4 separate regions of the Homo sapiens genome follow, and all the other regions are linked to region 1. Evidence: promoter capture Hi-C in human tissues and cell types (Jung and others, 2019). All regions are on one chromosome and are shown on one strand. The core of a region is centred on a gene start or on the middle of the fragment in contact, and the rest is flanking DNA. Distances in the headings are between cores, read along the strand shown.

What was found. The method cuts DNA at HindIII sites, captures the fragments that hold promoters and counts their contacts. A contact is called where the count stands out against the background at its distance.
Region 2: a contact is called between a fragment that was not itself captured here and the fragment with the promoter of SLIT2 in region 1, in 1 of the 25 tissues and cell types used here (aorta).
Region 3: a contact is called between a fragment that was not itself captured here and the fragment with the promoter of SLIT2 in region 1, in 1 of the 25 tissues and cell types used here (heart left ventricle).
Region 4: a fragment that was not itself captured here is called in contact with the fragment with the promoter of SLIT2 in region 1 in 1 of the 25 tissues and cell types used here (IMR-90 fibroblasts).

The regions. Positions count from the first base shown.
Region 1 is chr4:20,250,151-20,253,415 of GRCh38, reverse strand. It overlaps SLIT2 (slit guidance ligand 2), which reads right to left and starts at 1,511. Exons shown (of 37, transcript NM_004787.4): 1 at 1-1,511. RefSeq lists an enhancer at 1-395. The HindIII fragment of the contact is 10,378 bases long and covers 1-3,265 here.
Region 2 is chr4:20,705,600-20,708,864 of GRCh38, reverse strand. It overlaps PACRGL (parkin coregulated like), which reads right to left. Exons shown (of 9, transcript NM_001258345.3): 4 at 995-1,062. Among named protein-coding and RNA genes, the nearest start is that of PACRGL, 6.8 kb to the right of the region's middle. The HindIII fragment of the contact is 7,860 bases long and covers 1-3,265 here.
Region 3 is chr4:19,929,080-19,932,344 of GRCh38, reverse strand. The region is part of intron 3 of LOC105374511 (a long non-coding RNA gene); the gene reads right to left. Among named protein-coding and RNA genes, the nearest start is that of SLIT2, 320 kb to the left of the region's middle. The HindIII fragment of the contact is 6,007 bases long and covers 1-3,265 here.
Region 4 is chr4:19,983,869-19,987,133 of GRCh38, reverse strand. No RefSeq gene overlaps it. Among named protein-coding and RNA genes, the nearest start is that of SLIT2, 270 kb to the left of the region's middle. The HindIII fragment of the contact is 6,823 bases long and covers 1-3,265 here.

The DNA of each region.
Region 1 (3,265 bases), core at 262-2,761:
TCTGATCCCACGCACGCTTCTGCAAATCCGATGCCAGTGGCGAAGGTACAAGACAGAAGAGGGGATCTCAATAGGTATTATGGCCCCGATCAAAGTGGGCTCCGGAAGCTAGAAGGCGCGGAAGCCCAGCGGGCCCGTAGCAGAGCGCGCGGGGCAACTGGGCATGGCGCGCGGGGGTGCACGGGGCGGACGCGCAGTTCTGGGGGCGCACGGCTCTGGACTCTGCTCACTCACGCGGCCTCTCCCTCGCCCTCGACTCCGCCGCAGCCTGGACCGGTCCTCGCGGTCTCCCGACAGCCAACGATGGTTTACAAACACACATGCACTTCGCTGAAGGATGTCTGGGCAATCCCGCCTCCCGCTCGGCGTCCTTGGCGACGCTCTGCACCAGGACCTGCCCCGAGGTCACGCAGAAAAGACAAAAGGGCAGTCGGGCCGCCGCAGCCGGGCAGAAATATCCACTAGTCAGCACTCCGGCGAGGAACTCCAAGAGGCCAAGTGGAGGATGAGAGCTGCTGCGAAGACTGAGTGGGGACTGACTGGGGGCGGACTTAAAAACCAGGCAGACCGGAAGGAGTGGAAAGGCAAAGGCCAAGGTTGGAGGTGTCAGCGTCCTGCTGGGGCGTACTGGAGAATGGCTCGGTGGCAGGTGGGCGGGTGGGATCCACTACTCCAGGCAGAGCCAGGCGGCAGCTGAATGGCAGTAGTGTGTGCGCGCGTGTCAACCCCGCTCGTCTCCCAGATAAGCCGCAGCTCCGCGGCAGACACCTGATGGCAAAGGTAGAAGAAACAAGAGCCGGGTTCCGGAGGGCGCAGAGCCACGGCCGGCCCCCGGCGGTCTCCCACTAGTGGTTCGTCCTTCTCAAAGTGCAGCAACTTTTCCCAGGCTTTGAATTCCGTCCCCCAAGGCCACAGTGGCGGTACCCCTGCCGGCGTGGCGACGCCGCCCGGCTCCTGGCGCTGCACCTGACGCGGCGGCCGCAGTCCCGGGTAGTCCTTCTCCTTCTAGCCCCTTCCCCTCTCCCGCTGCTTTCCTGGCCTCCCGCTCCAGGGAGCGAGGTCGGGGAGAGGGAGGGCGACGACTCAGAGCGGGGACTCGGTGGCTCTGCCGACTCCGGAGCCCCTGGCAAGTGTCTAAACAATAGGACGGACGCAGCAGCCCAAGTCTCGCTTGTCTGGAAGGAAGGTGGGTTGTTGTCGTAACTGGAGTTGTTCGCTGGGGCTGACTGGCGCTCAGCGTAGCCAAACAAAAACCCGGCCCGCGCCTCCGGAGCCGGCTGCGGGCCCCCGGCGCTCCCCTTTCTGCTCAGCACTCCCGCCGTGCCCAGAAAGCGCGGCAGCTTCGGCCTGCGCCTGGGCGCTTCGGCGCTCCCATGCCTCGCAGCTGCCTCCGCCTCCGCCGCCGCCGCCGCCGCCGCCTTCTTTTTTTTAACCACAGTCTGCGGCAGCCACCACCACCGCCGCCGCCAAGCTCCGCCGTCCGGGCGCTTCCCAAATAAATAACACCAAGTCCGAAGTTGAGCCGGCGCGGGCCTTATATAGCCGCCCGAGCCTCCGCCCCCTGACCCCGCCCCTCGAGGCCCAGGCCCGCCCCCTGGCTCCGCTCTGGGAGCCCGCACCTCGCTGGGGAGAGGGGAGAGGTGAGGCCGGGGCTGCCAGCGCTGGGCGGAGGCGGCGGCTGGCGGCGCGCGTTCCCGTGCGCCCTGGCTCGCCCCCTCGCTCCCACGCGCGGGCAAACTTGGCCCGAAGAAGGAGCCACCCGAGCCCCAGCCCCCAACTCCTTGGCCCCAGAGGTGACCTGGGCTCGGAGATAGTCGTTTGCAGTGGGAGAATGGGAAGAGGTCGGCTTTGAACGCGGCTCATAAATAAACAGCCCTGCCAGTGCCTCTCCTGCAGCTTTTGCCACGCGATCCTTAAGGGGGCTGCTCACTCTTTGCAGCGCAGCAAGAGACAGAGAGACAGAAACAGAGAAATTATGATTTAAATTTAAGAAAAATCCTACCGAAATAGATCTGCCTGCGCTTACAGACACACACGTGTATTTTGGGGAGCTGAAAAGTTCAGTTTTTGCAAGTTGGAAAACAGCATTTTCCAACCTTCTTGCTTGCCTTTCTATCTCCAAGCCACCCCCTTCCGTTTAACCCTTCCTTTGTAGACACACACTGAACCACACCGTGGTCAGTTGATGTCTTGGATATTCAATAGGCTCACAAAACTCTTAAGGGCTTGAACGTATCTGTGTGATTTTTTACTCTCTTATGAGAGAAAGGAGGGGAAAAAATAAATCCCTAGCAACGCACATTATACCAGAAGGTTTTCTTTATTTCAGGGCAGTTCTGGATATTTTTTTCCCCGCTATGTTTTGAAAGAGAATTTCCTTGTTTCATCTTGTCTCTTTAGTGTGACGTATGTCTGGCAACGGCTGCCTCTCTCGCCCCCCTTTCCCCCCCAGCAAGAGCCAATGTCACTGTAAGTTTGAAATGACATCTAAATGACTCTGCTCCTTCTCTTGGATTTAATATGCATCATATTGTTGTTCTTCCTCCCATTTCCACGTTAAGAAGCTTTCCCTGGAATTTGTGCAAGCCCCCGCCTAATACCAGCCTCATATTGTAGTAGTTATTTGTATAATTATTAGAAGCTTCCTTGAAAGCAAGACCTGTCCAACTCTTTGTATTTCCAGCATCTATGCCTGCCACATAATAGGTTTCCTCATAAGTAACCGATTTCTTTAACTCAAGAGTATGCTCAACCTAAAATCTCTGCAATATCCTCATTAACGTTTTTCCTGGTTAACATTTTCTAAGATGTCCTTTCATAATGGCTACCCCTACTTACCTCATTTTGCCTGCCTTGGAAAACGTAAGCCTTTTCGAGGACACGCCCAAAGGCAGGGTACCATCTGATAACTGAATTGGAACTCTTAGGATTACTCATTTTAATGCCACAGATTTATATTGCTCTATTCTTTTAAAACCTTCAAAAACATTTGACATTTATTAACTCATTTGTCCTTCTAGATTTTAGCTTAAAGGTCTGTTATGTAACTTCCTTGAGGAGGAGAAAAAAGAAGCCCTTGTCACATTTTCTTGTAAGGAAAATGAGATAAAGAACAAGTACCTGTCATTGAGGAAGGAGCTCCCCCAACCCTCAGTGAATTTTCCTTAGTGTGTACCAGTAAATTATGTGGTTAAATATGGTTGCTGATACATTAATTTATTTAATTTCACAACTTTAATATCTTGTCAGCAACAAGAGGTGTTTG
Region 2 (3,265 bases), core at 488-2,987, 460 kb before region 1:
TTTACTGAGGAATAACTAACACGCAATAAACTGCATGTATTTACAGTATACAATTTGGTATGTTTTTATGTACGAATACACTCAAGGAACTATCATCACAATCATGACAGTGAACTTAATCCATCAACCTAAATGCTTCTTTGAACTCCTTTGTAATGTTCTTGACTTCTTGACTCCTTTGGGCTTATTTTCATAAGAGTAAGACGTCTCTCTAATATTGTTTTTACATTTTTGCAACAATAAGTTTTGGAGGGGTGGGGAGTAGAGAATTAAGAAACTTTAAATAGGGTTTCAATTCAGAATGTAAATATGAAATAACAATAAACTGAAGAGTATTTCTTGAGCTTATTTTTCACTCCAAATCCGAAAATACCATTAAAAACTAGATTTCTTGAATTTTGGAACAAAAATAAATAAATGTTGTGATTATTTCCATAATCAAAATAAAATTTTCTATCATCTACAACAGGCTAAAACTGGATGAACTCTGAAGAAATAAATGCTTTATAGAAATAAATTGTAAAATGATACATTATCTGTAGTATTTTTTTTTTAAAGTTCTGACATCTGTCTAGAAAGGTGGCAAGAATTATATCCAAAATGAAGCAAAAACAGCCATATGTATTTATTATGAAATATAAACAATTTCATTAAATTGACAACTTTCATTTTACCAACAAGATAGGATTTTTTAATTTGCAACTTGCCCAAGCCTGCAAATGCTTAAATTGATTATTTTAGAAAAAGGGTTCAAGTAAAGTTCTTAAACTGATGGTTTATCCATAGATCCCAATAACTGTATTTTGGAACTAGAATGGTTTTCTTCAACAACATCCAGGAATCTATACCAGTCCAAAAGAAAGTGTGAATAAAGTCATCTTTATTTCAACCTCACTAGTAAATAAAACTTACAATACATTTAAACTAAATATTGTATTCATTTTACTCAATGATTTTGAATAATTTGGTCAGTTATAAATCATATTGATTTTACCTGCAAGGAATACCTCCTTTAGAGTAAATAGCTGCAAATGCAGAAGGCACTCGTGACTGTTCACCAAACTAAAATAAAAAATGAAAATATTACTATCACCTATACTTCTGAGGTCAGAAGCACACAGCCATTTTGCTTTTCAAACCGCCAAGCTGGTATCGAAGCGCACCGTTTCTACTCAGCAACACAGTTGAGAAAAACTGTCAATCCTCTCTCTACTAGAATACCACGACCACACTTGGTACATCTCTTTTTCCCCTAACGATTCAGGATGCTTGAACGCGGCTGAAACCACATATGGAATGATAGTTCTTTCTACCTTCTTCCCCACTGTGACCTTTCAAGGTGAGGACTCTATGGAGAAGGGGTGTTAAGTACAGAAAAAGTATATTTGTTTTTTGCCACCTGCACATCTCCTACTTTGTGCTTCAGCCAAATACAGATGGCGTAGGTAGTCACATTTCTCCAAACTGGCTTTAGGCTTCTATAAAAAACAAAGGATTGCGCTGGGCAGGAGGGAGAGAATTGAAGATGGGGAAGATTCTCACAAATATATGCCTGGATGTATTTTCTTAGATATATAACTTCATAACCTTTCAGTTTTGCTATATATGAATAGCTTGATTTTATACCTACTCTTAAAGATGATTTAAGGGATGGTCAATCACAACAGTTAAACAATTACAGCATAAATAATTTCAATATAATTGATAAGAGACTTACAGAGGATTTAGGAACAAAAAGTAAATATTTTATCACATGGTACTTTTAATATATAATCAAATGAAAAATAGTTGTCTAAATTACAAAATATAAATTGACCTGTTTTAAAGATATAACTAGATAATTTTTTTTAAGTCACACACAGTGGTAGTTTTAAAATGTGCTTAAAAAGTTTAGAATCAGCTCTTTTTTCCTCTGGAAAAGCATGAGTTTTGAGTAAAAGCACATAGGAGAAAATTCGTTCAAATTAAATTACAATAAAAGATTCATATCTGGCCAGGCGCAGTGGCTCAAGCCTGTAATCCCAGCACTTTGGGAGGCTGAGGCGGGTGGATCACAAGGTCAGGAGATCGAGACCATCCTGGCTAACACGGTGAAACCCCATCTCTACTAAAAATACAAAAAACTAGCCAGGATGGTGGCGGGTGCCTGTAGTCCCAGCTACTCGGGAGGCTGAGGCAGGAGAATGGCTTGAATGCAGGAGGCGGAGTTTGCAGTGAACCAAGATTGTGCCACTGCACTCCAGCCTGGCGACGGAGCGAGATTCCGTCTCAAAAAAAAAAAAAGATTCATTTCCAAAATTCAATCCATGTTATGTGTAACAATTCACAAGAGGAATGTTTCACTCATCTAGTTATAATTTCTGCTATAAAAGAAACACAAGTTTTAAAAATTATTTTCAAGTAACAAGCATATCCGATAAGAAAGTTGTTTGAAAAAGTGCTACACATATTGGAGAAAAAATTAAGACAAATTAGTACTATACTATCAACATATTTGACTTCTACCATCTACAAGCAAATGATCTTTCTTTTTGGCCCTTACAGGTCATGAAAATAATCCCTAAAATTTCAATATACCCACAAAGACTAAATTTCTGATTGAAATGCTAAACAATTCCTTTCTTTGCCTTTCAATTTTATTCTAGAGATAATCATGGTTTCATCTTCCATGTTCCACAAAATCAGAATTTTTTATGAATAGATTACTTTTATCGATTTTAACCAAATTTTACCAAGTCTAAAGTGAAAAATGTTATCCCATTCAATTTTTAACAATTTCAGACCATATTTCAACTCTGTATTAATGTTATATACTATACTACACTGAATTAGCGTTTCAAAAAATTTTTTAACTCAAATATTTAAAATATTAATGTGCATAAATCACAATAGTGAATTCACAAAAAATGAACACACCTGTTTATCAACAGAGTTGAAAAATCTGAAAGTTTCCAGCACACTAGATGCCTCCACTGCCTCTCCCAAATCCCTGCCCACCTTTCGCCCCAAAGGTGAACATTATTCTGACTTCCAACTCATTTGTTTTATATTGGTAGCTTTTACACATGCTTTTCTCGGGTCAAATTATTTAACTATTTCCCAAAACTTTCCTCGATTTTTACTAAAACTTAGGACTAAGGTCACTAAATATTATTAATTCAAAAAGTACTTCTTTAAAGAGAGGAAGAAAATTGAAGCGTCACCGTAAACTCCCTCAACTAAACATAAGCAAAGGAAGTGAGAGCAACAAGATTATTAGGGCCTT
Region 3 (3,265 bases), core at 338-2,837, 320 kb after region 1:
CACAGTCGCTCACCATTCACTCACTCAGAACATCATCCAGTCTTGCAAGCTCCGTTCATGGTAAGTGCCACATGCAGGTGCACATTTTTCATCTTGTATTTTTCTTGTACCTTTTCTATTTTTAGATATGTTTAGCTACAAAAGTACTGACCATTGTGTTACAATTGCCTACAGTATTCAGTACAGTAACATGCTGTGTCTGTTTGCAGCTTAGGAGCAACAGGCTATACCATGTATCCTAAGTGTGTAGTAGGCTATACCACCCAGGTTTCTGTAAGTATACTCTGTGATGCTCATACAATGACAAAATCACCTAGTGACTCCTTTCTCAGAACATATCCCCGTCGTCAAGCCAGGTATTACCGTATATAACTCCTTAATCTCTTCCCATCTGGCTTTAACTGCTACTGCTCCGCTGTAACTCTTGTTCAGGGACCTCCAAGATATTCTGACCTTAGATCATCAAATTATTTTCCATATTGGAACATATTACCATTTCCGTATTACAACATACTTCCATATTATGACACTATTGGCCCTGGAATCTGTCATGAAATTCTCCTGTCTTCCTTTTCCATTTTTTCCTCATCATTATTCGTGGAAGTTTTTCCAGAATATTAGCCTTTGGCCTCCTTCTCTTTTCTTCATTGTTCTCTCATTTGTTACTGCACCTACTCTTAAAACTTTATCTTTCATTTCAAGTAAATAACTTTTTTTTTCTTTTCAACTTTTATTTTAGGTGCAGGGGATGCATGTGCAGGTTTGTAACATGGGTAAATTGTGTGTCATGGGGGTTTGGTGTACAGATTATTTCATCATTCAGGAGATGAGCATAGTACCTGTTGGTAGTTTTTCTAACCTCAACTTTTTCCTACCCTCCACTCTCAAGCAGGCCTTGATGTCTATTGTGTGTGCCCTGTTTTGTGTTTCATGTGTACTCCATGATTAGCTCCCACTTATAAGTGAGAACATGCAGTATTTGGTTTTCTGTTCCTGCACCAATTTGCTTGGGATAATGGCCTCCATTTCCATCCACATTGCTGCAAAGTACACAATTTCATTCTTTTTTTATGGCTTCCTAGTAGTCCATAGTGTATCTGTACCACATCTTCTTTATCTAGTCCACTGTTGATGGGCATCTAGGTTGACTCCATGTCTCTGCTATTATGAATAGTGCTGCAATGAACATACATGTGCATGTGCCTTTATGGTAGAATGATTTATATTCTTTTGGGTATTTACCCAGTAATGAGATTTTTGGGTTGAATGGTAGTTCTGTTTCAAGTTCTTTGAGATATCTCCAAACTGCTTCCCACAGTGGCTGAACTAATTTACATTCCCACCTGCAGTGTATAAGCTCTCTCTTTTCTCTGCGGCCTCACCAGAATGTTATTTTCTACTTAGTAATAGTCATTCCGACTGGTGTAAGATGGTATCTCATTGTGGTTTTGGTTTACATTTATCTAATGATGAGTGACATTGAACATTTTCTCATATGCTTGTTGATGGTGTATATATCTTCATTTGAGAAACGTCTGTTCATATCCTCTGCCCATTTTTTATTTTTTTGGTTTGTTTTGTTTCTTTGCTTGCTTATTTGTTTATGTCCCTTGTAGATTCTGGCTGTTAGACCTTAGTTAGATACATATTTTGCAAATATTTTCTCCCATTCTGTAGGTTGCCTGTTTACTCTGTTGATAGTTGATTTTTTCTATGCAGAAGGTCCATAATTACGTCCCATTTGTCAATTTTTGTTTTTGTTTCAATTGTTTTTGGAATCTCCATCAATACCTGTATTAATTATTCCTTTCCAAATTCCATTTCTCTGATTGCAACTATCTGGTGAATGTCTCCTTCTACATATTATTTAAATGTTTCAAAGTTAAATGTTTTAAAAAGAAAAATTGTTTTGCTTATTTCTCTCACAATTTTTTACCAGTTCCCTCAGGCTACAAGCCTCCAAGTCATGTCTTCACGGTTAAGACCATAATATAGGTTAGACATACCTGAATTAAAATGTCAACTTTACTCTGGAAGCTGTGAAACCTTAAATAGTTTACTAACATCTGTAAGGATCTATTTTCTCATCTATATACTAGGATAATAATAGCAACTTCCTGTCCAGGATATTTATATAAAATAACTAATTCATGTAGAACACAATTTGTAGAGGTAGATACAGGGTAAGTGCTACAAATTGGTAGTTTTTATTAATATTTAATATTATCCTCATATTTAAAATCAGAAACTAAGTACATTTACTTCTACCTTTAAAATAGGTCTTACATGAATTCTTTACTTTCCATTCCCTCTTAACCACTTTTATTTCAACTCATATTACTTCCCTTGCTTGTATACCATGGAAGAGTGGGCATTTTATTCAGGCCTTAACACCTGGACAGAGATAATCAGAAAAGGGGATAGAAAGCATTTTAGTTGACAGAAACCACTGAGGCAGGAAAATGAGCATTGTCTTCAATGACAAGCAAAGACTAGACTTTCTCTGGAACATGGAGTTTATGTAGAGGATGTTTATAATGATTGAGTTCAATGTGCCTTCTTCCATGGGCAAGAGGACAGGAGAATCTGATTGATAACAGAAGGGTCATCTGCAAATCTGTGCTTCATGAATATTAAGAGAATCTGGTTTTAGAATATGACAGAACAGAATAAGGAGATATTGGAGAGAAGGGCTAGGAGGCTGCTGGAATTACACAGTTGAAAAATGATGCCTTTCGGTCATGAAGAGAAATCCCAGAAAGCAAACTAACAATTCTGGAGAAGCCAGACTCTATTCCAGAGATTGTTTTCCAGTCTCTATAGGAAGGAAGAAAAGACTATGCTCGATTGAGAGAATCTGGATTATAGTAAAGGTGCCGAAAGTAGGAACCTGAGTATGGAAGAACATGGCAGGATTGCAGTTACTAGAGCCAGATTCCCACATGAGCCAGGACAAAGGAGGAACTCAAGCTGTTAGAATTATGTTCATGAAATCTCCAGTATTTACGCAGAATGTTCTTTTCTTGAGACAGGATCTCGCTGTGTCACCCAGGCTGGAGTGCACTCCCACGATCATAGCTCGCTGCAGCATCAACGTCCTTGGCTCAAGTGATCCTCTCTCATCAGCCTCCTAAGTAGCTGGGACTACAGGTGCACACTGCTATACCAGGCTTGTTTTTTAAAACACGATTTGTACAAATGTGCTCTTGCTTTGTTGCCCAGGCTGGTATTGAACTCCTGGCTTCAAGTGATCCTCCTGCCTCAG
Region 4 (3,265 bases), core at 287-2,786, 270 kb after region 1:
AAAGAGCAAAATAAACCCAAAGAATTGAGAAAAAAAATACTAAAAAAAAGCATAGATTAATAAAATTAAGATCAGAAAAAAAATAGAGACAAGAAAACAAAAACTTTGTTCTGTGGAAATATTAATAAAACCAACTAACTTCTAGCAAGAAAAAGATAAAAGCAGACACAAATTAACACTATCAAAAATAAAGCAGGGGATATAACTATAACCTTGCAGACATCAAAAAGTTAATAAGGAAATATTTTGAACAAATATGTGAAAAATTGACAATTACTTGAAAAATATAAACTCGCAACTCATCAAATATACAATAGTAGCCTTTAACTATTAAAGTAATCGAATCTGTAGCTGAAAGAAAACTGTTAAAAATCTAGTAAGCCCAGATAACTTCAGTCTTGAATTCTAGCAAATGTTTAAAGAACAATGACAGCAATTATACACAATCTTCTCCAGAAAATAGATGAGAGAGCACTTCATTTTATGAAGCTAATAACACTCTGTGCTATGCATGATCAACCAGGAAAAATAATAAAAAACAAAACTGCTGACAAATATAAATACGAGTATACCTGGATGTATTCATGAATGCATAAATAAACTCCCTAAGAAAATTTTAGTCAACAGAATTCATTAATATGTACATTAATATGTAAAAAATATACACCATAATCAAGTGGATTTATTCCAGAGATTTATGGCTGGTTCAACATTTTAAAAAGCAATGTAACCTATCATATTAACAGTTTAAAGAATAAAAATCGCATGTTCATATGAATTTATGCTGAAAAAATATTTGACAAGCTTTAACACACATAAGGAAAAACTCTTAGGGAAAAGGGAATTGTATTAGTCCGTTTTCACCCGGCTGATAAAGACATACCCAGGACTGGGCAATTTACAAAAGAAAGAGGTGTAACTGGGCTTACAGTTCCACGTGGCTGGGGAGGCCTCACAATCATGGTGGAAAGCAAGGAGGAGCAAGTCACCTCTTACGTGGATGGCAGCAGGCAAAGAGAGCTCCTGTATGGAGTCTCCCTTTTTAAAAACCATCAGATCATGTGAGACCCATTTATTGTCACGAGAACAGCATGGGAAAGATCCTCCCCCATGATTCAATCATCTCCCACTGTGTCCCTCCCACAATGCGTGGGAATTATGGGAGCTACAAGATGAGATTTGGGTGGGGACACAGAGCTAAACCTTATCAGGAATAGAGAGGAACTTCCTCAACTTGATTAAAAAAAAATTCTTACAGCTAATGTGATTCTTAACGGTGAAAGACTAAATGTTTTCCCTGTAGAATCAGAGTGAAGGCAAGGACATCCACTCTCAACCCTCTTATTTCACATAGTACTGGAAACTCTAGTAGACACAATAAGGTGAGGAAAAGAAATAAAAGGAATGCAGATCAGAATGAAAGATATAAATTTACCTTTATTTGCAGATAACATGATCATCTTACATGAAAAAATTCTACAAAATCTATCAAAAAAGCCTCCTAGAACATATAAATAAGGTTAGCAAGTTGATAGAACAAAATAAACACAAAAATCAATTGTGTATATATACGCACACACACACACTATATATAAAAAATTAGCACATAGAAACAAAAATGTAAAATGAAATACCATTTGCAAACATTTTTAAAATTAAATACTTAGCTTTAAATATAGCCAAACATTTGCAGGTCTTGTATGCTTCAAACTATAAAACACTGATTTAAAAAATCAAAGATCTGTGAAAAATGAAGAGACATGAACTTTACGTATGGATTGTGAGACTCACATAGCAAAGATGCCAAGTCTACCCAAAGGGATATACATGTCTAGTGCAATTCTTATCAAAATCATGGCATTTTTTTGTGGATATAGACAGGGTTATCTTACAACTTACACTGAAAGGCTAAGGAAGTGGAATAGCTAAACAAGTTTGAAAAAGATGAAGAAAGTGGGAAAAATTGCTTTACCCACTTTCAAGACCTATTTTATATAGATACCATAACCAGGTCTGTATGGTATTGGCAGAGAATTAGGCTCATAGGTCAATGGAATACAATAGAGAACCCCAGAAATAGGTCCAAACATATATACCCAATTGACTTGTGCCAAAGGAACGAGATCAGTTTAACAGAGGAAAAATCGCCTTTTCAAAAACCGATGCTAGAACAGGTGAACTTCCATAGGCAAAACAAAAACAAAAACAAAACAAAACAGAGAAATAAAAAAAAAACCTGATCGATGTCTTATACTGTATTAAAAAATTAAGTCAAAATGAAATAGAGATGTAAGTATAAAATGTAAAATTATAAAACTCTTAGGAAAAAATACGGGGAAATCTTTTTGGATCTAGGGCTAGGCAAAATCTTAATACCAAAAACATCTATAAAAGGGAAAAAGGATAAATTGTACTTCATCAGAATTGAAAACGTTTGCACTGCAAAAGAGTTGTTAAGTGAATGAAAAAATATACTACACAGTTGGAGAAAGTATTTGCAAACCATACATCCAACGTAGGGCTAGTATCTAGAATACATAAGAACTCTCAAAACCCTCAGTAAGGAAAAAAAAATCAATCTAATTAGCATATACGCAAAAGTCATTAAGGGACATGACACTGAAGAGGATATATAGGTGGTAAATAAGCACATGAAAATATATTTTTCATTATGAGCCCTTAAGAAATGCAAAATAAAACTCCAATGAGGTAACACTGCATTCATATCAGAATGGGTAAAATCAAAAAAACAAAATAGTGACAATACCAAATGCTGGACAGTATGTGGATAAAACTGAATCATTCATACCCTGGGGTGAGAAGGTAAATTGGTGCAGCCACATTGAAAACAAATTGATACTTTCTTAAAAATCTAAATCTGCAATTATTATACTACTCCACAATTGTACTCCTAGGTATTTATCCCAGAAAAAGGAAAACTTACGTTTATGCAAAAAATCCATACATGAACGTTTATAGCTCCTTTAATTGTAATAGCTATAAACTGAAAACAACCAAATATTCTTCAACAGGGGAAAGGTTAAACAAACTGGGGCACATCTATGCCATGGACTTGGTACTCACTAATACAAGGAAATGAGCAATTGATACCCGATATAACTTACGTGAGTCTCCAGAGAATTAAGCTCAGTAAGAAAAGTCAGTCCCTGAAAGGTTACATAGTGTACAATTCTATTTGTGTAACATTCATTAAATGAAAGAACAGATTAGTGGATGTCACGTGTTAAGAAGGGGGTGGACATAC